Linked DNA regions of Homo sapiens: region 2 is linked to region 1. Evidence: promoter capture Hi-C in 16 types of primary human blood cells and fetal thymus (Javierre and others, 2016). All regions are on one chromosome and are shown on one strand. Each heading gives the region's core, a stretch centred on a gene start or on the middle of the fragment in contact. The rest is flanking DNA. Distances are from core to core; before and after follow the strand shown. Region 1 holds the start of HIGD1A (HIG1 hypoxia inducible domain family member 1A). Region 2 overlaps ABHD5 (abhydrolase domain containing 5, lysophosphatidic acid acyltransferase).

Region 1 (3,206 bases), core at 174-2,673:
CGCCTTTGAGTTGTCCCCCGTTTCTGGACCAAACCAATGTATTTCTTAAATGTATTTGATTGATGTCTCATGCCTCTCTAAAATGTATAAAACCAAGTGTGCCTGGACCACCTTGGGCACATGTTCTCAGGACCTCCTGAGGGCTGTGTCAGGGGCCACGGTCACTCACATTTGGTTCAGAATAAATCTCTTCAAATATCTTAGAGTTTGACTTTTTTCGTTGACCCACCAATTGGCCGGATTATTACTCATTATTTACTTGACAAACACATTAGGAGCCCTGTCCCCGGAAGCTCGCTGTCACGAGGGGCCTCTGACATCTCCTTCTTGAGAGAAAGGTCGCCTGGCCTGGGTGAGGTCGTAGTTCCCGCGACCCCGTGCTTGCAAGTACTGGCTGCCTCCTACTATAGTGTAAGCTCCAGGAAGGATCCCGCGGGGGACCTGACAGCTCACGGTCCTGGCCGACAACCGCCCTGGGAGCGGAATGGATGGAGCCCGCAGTCGTCCCGGCGCACTGGGCAAGCTCTGCTCCCACTGTGGCAGGCCAGATCTCCATTAGCAACCAGAGCAGCTCTCACCAACGCCTCACTGTCATTCTGATGCATGTATAAGTTAAACATTGGAGAAACTGGTGCCTTAGGAGAAAGGCTAGAATGTAAAGACAAGTCCATTAGGATCCCGCCTGAGCTTTTTCAACCCCTAGAGTTTAATTAAAATAATGGAGTTGTTCTTGCACACCTTGTACCAGGACCCACTTTAGATTATTTCCAAGGCTCTGAAGCAATTGTCTAGACACCTGACCCTATTACCGTTAAAGATTGGCTTGAGTGAAACACTTTGGCTTTCGACTTGTAAATGCACTGAATGTATTTAAGCACTAGAAAAACTTGTATTAATAATTTTGAGTTGGTCTGGTGAGTTACTCCGACCTTCTCCCTGTAACCTGTTGCAGAAATAAACTCCGTTCTTTCCCAGTCTGTCTGCATCTCGTTACTGAACGGCGAGAACAAGCAGTCGGACCCGGGTGGGTCGGGGAACACAACCTCACCCGCAGCCGAAACCCCTCACCCGCATCCCTTCCCGGCCCGTGAGGCGTCCGCAGGCGGCGGCGCTCGGGACACGGCGTTCGCGGTGCTCGCCTCCGCTGCCCGAGGGGAAAAGGGCAGGAGAAATCTGAGGAGTCCTTGGGCCAGGAGCCAAAGCCCCTCAAGTGCCCGGGCGCGAACCCCAGGCGCCGAGCTCTCACGTCTGTCTCCGCCAGTACGCTAGAGCCGGGGTAGTGGGCCAGCACTCACCGGCCCAGCCAATCCAGGACCCGCTCTGCACTGCCCCACCCGCCGCGCACACGCACGCGTCCTTTTGCGGCCGCTGGCCTCTGATTGGCTGGGACGGCTGTGGGTGGGGAGAAGCCGGGAGGACTGGGTGCGCCTGCAGGGATCGGAAGCCGGTTGGGGTGTGAGAGGTTTTCTCGCTCTAGGTAAGCGAAACAAGCCGGGGGACTGCGAGCCAGGGACTCGGGCCGCGGGGCGGGAAGAAGTGGGGCAGCGCTTGGCCAGGCCGAAAGGACTTTGGGGGTGGGGGCTGGGAGTCCGTGTCTCGAATGAGGGAGGAGAGGTGGAGTTGCCGGGGCTCAGGCCCGGCCTCGAGCATGGGCGGATGAGAGGAGTCGGGAGCCGAGGCCTAGGGTCCTTCGGGTGAGGGGAGACGGAGCCAGCGAGGAGATGGAGCAGAAGCTTGTGGAGTGAGTTGCCGAGCGGGGAAGACTCGCTGATGGGGTGGTAATGAGAGACGGGGGCCAGGAGGGTGTTGACTGGGCCCGACGGCGGGGAGCGAGGAGCGGGAGCTTCCCCGGAGCTTGGAACATTCTGAAGAGCGGGCTAAGCGGCAGGCGAGGCGGGATAGGAGAGCGAGCGCTCCGGTCACGGAGTCACGACAAGGTCACAGGAAGAGAGGCGGCGAGGAAGGTCGGGAGGTTGAGGGGAGGGCGTACTAGCAGAGGACCTTCCAGTCCTGGTCTTGCTTTTCTCCCCGACCTGGTGTTTCCTCCACCCTGGGAAAGTGATAAGGCCTAGGGTCCTGTGTAGTGCTTCTGTGACCGAATTAAATTTTTCTCCTGCCGAGTCGGCGGGTTAGAGATTACAAAGCACAGCGTAAGGGCAGAATTAGGAGCAGCCGACATGATGCAGCAGTGATATTCGCCTTTGTCTTAAATTCCCGGAGTGGGAAGCAGCTATTTCCCTCTTCGGAGTAATCCCCACGACAGGGATCCCTGCTTCCGGAAGTACAAAGGCACTTTGGAGTAAGACAGGTTTGGATGGAAAGTTCTAACAGGTTGAAGCGGTGACAACCTGGTCATGAAGCTCCAGCATGACACACATATTTGGAGTCCTGTATACTAGGAGTTCTCTTTGTGCACCAGAGTCACTTGAAGGGGCTTCTTAAAGATTCCTTGAGCTCTGCCCCAGACCACCTGAATCCGGATCTCCATGCTGGGGCCTTGGCAGCCATTTTAAACAAGCTGATGGGCGACTGATGCAAAATCAGTTTGAAGCCAGCGTTGCTTTAGATAGTAATTCCCGTGACAAAATGACTGTGAAGAAAGATCCTTCATTCAACCTGTTACGTCTCCTGATGCTGGACGGCTCATCTTCCCTTAATGCCTCTTTAGGTTCCCTGTGGAAAGGTCTTCAGTCGTGTCTTACTAAGCGTACAGAATTAATTTGTGCTCTCCAAACTGACTTTAAATATCTGGTTACTGGTGCCTTTTTTAGCGTCTATTCAACTTTCTGACAGAAATCTGGGACAACTACTGTGGGTGGATGAGAAAACGATAATGAAGGAAAGTCTGGCAGTGGTGTAGTGAAAAAAGTCTTTTCAAATCACAATTGAAATTGTTAGATGAGTTAAGTCACTGAAGAAGATTCCGTTTACCTTAGGCATGATTTTTTTATATATATCATTCAAAGAGAACAACGTGGGCTTCTGTTGAGTAATGGATTCTTAAATTTTCTAATCAGAATTCTTATCTGCCAATTTAATCTAATTTACATCAGCAGCGTAAGATTGATGCTTTGGCAATATATCGTCAATCAAAAGAACCCAGGACTCTCTATCAGAAGAGCTGGATTCTAATCCTACCCCACCAGACATGTATTCCTTGTACTGAGCAATTCGTATAACCCTCTCACAACCCTTTCCCCACCTGT
Region 2 (3,100 bases), core at 280-2,779, 900 kb before region 1:
CGCCTGTAATCCAAAAGTTGGCAAAAATTGATCAGCTTTTATTTGTTCTTTAGAGTAAGAATCCTTCTTAAACAAGTGCATTAAACTAGGCCTTTTCATTCTTCTCTTCAAACTGTCCTATAAAAGTAACGAATGGAAGAATGGAGCTGCCCATAAAAGACAAGGACTGAAGTAGTTATGGCTTGGAACACTAAGTCCCAACAAATAAAACAACGTTGTTTTTGTGTTTTTTCCCTCCATGCATAAAACGGAAAGTAAGGAGCTGTCATTTTACTTAAAAGAAAAAAATAAAGATTATATTTGCAACACCTGAGGAAGCAAAGAATAAAATAACATTATCAGCTGAGCACGGTGTCTCATGCCTGTAATCCCGGCAGTTTTGGAGGCAGGAGGATCATTCGAGGCCAGGAGTTTGACATTGGCCTGGGCAACAAAGTGAAACCCCCATCTCTACACAAAACTTTAAAAATTACCCAGGCATGGTGGCACACCTGTAGTACTAGCTACACGGGAGGTTTGTTGAGTGTAAGAGGTCAAGGCTGCAGTGAGCTATGATTGCGCCACTGCACTCCAAACTGTGCAACAGAGTAAGACCCCATCTCTAAGAAAAAAAAAAAAGGTAACATTCTCAAAGTCCATTATCGAAAAAAGAGAGAGAGACAAAAGAGGCACAGTGAGTGTAAGAAAAGATCTGAATTTCATTTGATCTCCAGACCACTTTTTCCCTCCTCTTACCGCTCCCCCCACGCCCACCAAAAGTCTTTCTGAAACTCAAAGATTCATTTGAATATCATGACAGCATAATAAAAATGCTACTGGATCAAAAGCAAGCTGGATGAGCACGAGTATGTAGTTCAGTACCTGTTTGTTGATACCAAGCGGACTGCTCTATTGCACCAGAGAAAACGTGTGTGTGCTGCAAAGAAGCTTCTCCAGCTTAGGTGAAACATTCCACATCACACAGAAGGCAACCCTGACAACCACCCCATCTGCTTAGTGGGAATGCCAACTTCAAGACACACCAAACACTAAACATAACTTAATATGAGGTTTGCTATAATGGTGAACACTTAACAGTACTCAGTCCTGTTTAATCCTGTTTAATGTTTGGATCTGTGAGTCTATCGAACTATATTAACTATCAGATCATCTATGTAAATTTGTACAAATTTGCCCAACCAGGACCAAGCAGAAAAAAATTCTTTTTAATAAAAAGTTAACAAATATGAGCAACATTATTAGTAATATAAATAAACGTGGACAGCAAGACCAAAGGGCACCAAAGGAGACGATGCACCTTGCAGAAAAGACAAGAGATACTCATTTTTCCCTGTCCTCTCCATTTAAAGAGAAGTGCTTCCAGGGAAGCCATCCTGAAAAGCAATGAAGGAAAAAAGCTAGGGAGAAGGGGAAGCCCGTGAGATTGTTAATTCCAGTCTTCCTATATTATATGCTACAATGGGGTATTATCTGGTCTATTAGAACAGGGAAAAAGTAAACTATAAAATTTTACTTTTATTTAGTAGATTTAACACACTTCTAAACTAACTAAAGTTGTTGGTTTAAATGGCTGGTCAATTTGCTTAATTCTGTAAAATATTCATGTATGTTATGTATATACGTGTGTGTGTGTAAATGTTAGAAGAAACATTCTCACTAATACCTTTCTCTCACACATACACACAGAATGATCTCTTTATTTCCACGGTAACTTGTTTTTATGCTATACTAACTCAAGATGTAGACTAACTGGGCAAAAGGCATAAAACTGAAATCTTTGCCTGCTTATGCTTGCATATCTGAAACTAATTTTTCTCCCAAAAATAAATTAGAAAGATATGACATGACCAGCTCTTATCTCTTGATACTTCTATGCAAAATGCAAAGAGAAGAACAGAGAAAAGAACATAAAATTGTTAGCTAAAAGGTGAACTTAGCTTATAATTCTCTTTTTCAAAATCACCTATTCAAGAAATATTTACTAGGCAGCCACTATGTGCCAACCATGGTGTTCTGACTGACTGGACATAATCATGATTTGAGATATCTGAAAATCCAGAAAACATCATTATTTTGAAATTAACCTGTATTTAATAATTTAAGTTTTATGCAGTTAAGAATATAAGCTTGAATATTCAATACACTCTGTACAGTTCAAAATTTTGTTGGCAACCAGCCAAATTTAGACAGGCTAATTATTTCAAGCATTCTCATATCCATCTACTGCTACTACTTATGATTCTTGGTCCTGAGACAGTACTCTAGTTTTATTTCTAGCATTAGACACAAACATTCAAAAACCATTTTCTAAAATATTATTAGTCCAATGCAGGAATCACTAGCTTTGTTTTTAGATACCTTTTGCTATTCTCTTTTATAATGTTTTTAAAGTGTTGATTCCCTTCTGAATCCCTGAAGCCCCCTATTTCTTTAGAGCAGTTCACAATTGCAAATGAAACTCTTGCCAACTGACCTTATCAGTAGAGAGCTATGAAGGGTCAGGATTCTAAGACTTAGGGTTTAATGACCAAGGTCTAGCCTGCAGAGTTCCATGTCACATCTTCAGAGAATAAATACCACAAGACAGACACAGACATAATACATACCTGATAAAAAACAAAGGAAGTTCAACTCCCACAAATAGCCCTGTTGACTTGTACCAGAAAAGCATCTACTTCCTTCTCCTTTCACCATAAATGCAAATAGGTGTTTGTCACTAAGAGTAGGACACAATAAAAGAAAGTAACACCAGCGGGTGCGGTGGCTCATGCCTGTAATCCCAACACTTTGGGAGGCCAAGGCAGGCGGATCTCCTGAGGTCAAGAGTTTGAGACCAGCCTGGCCAACATGGTGAAACCCTGTCTCTACTAAAAATACAAAAATTAGCCAGTGTGGTGGCGGGCTCCTGTAATCCCAACTACTCGGGAGGCTGAGGCAGGAGAATTGCTTGAACCTGGGAGACGGAGGTTGCGGTGAGCCGAGATACCGCGCCACTGCACTCCAGCCTGGGCGACCGAGTGAGACTCCGGCTCAAAAAAAAAAAAAAAAAAAAAAGAAAATAAAGAAAGTAACCCCAAAATGCCAACCAGGAGAAGAAAAT

Evidence for each region. Contacts are between HindIII fragments. The CHiCAGO score rates a contact against its expected background, and 5 or more counts as called.
Region 2: a fragment that was not itself captured here is called in contact with the fragment with the promoter of HIGD1A in region 1 in 1 of 17 cell types (neutrophils); the score reaches 6.2 in neutrophils.

The regions. Positions count from the first base shown.
Region 1 is chr3:42,802,707-42,805,912 of GRCh38, reverse strand. HIGD1A (HIG1 hypoxia inducible domain family member 1A) reads left to right here and starts at 1,423. Exons shown (of 4, transcript NM_014056.4): 1 at 1,423-1,477. RefSeq lists an enhancer at 1-386 and a silencer at 1,248-1,467. The HindIII fragment of the contact is 3,515 bases long and covers 1-1,735 here.
Region 2 is chr3:43,703,988-43,707,087 of GRCh38, reverse strand. All of the region lies in intron 3 of ABHD5 (abhydrolase domain containing 5, lysophosphatidic acid acyltransferase), which reads right to left. Among named protein-coding and RNA genes, the nearest start is that of ABHD5, 15 kb to the right of the region's middle. The HindIII fragment of the contact is 1,199 bases long and covers 930-2,128 here.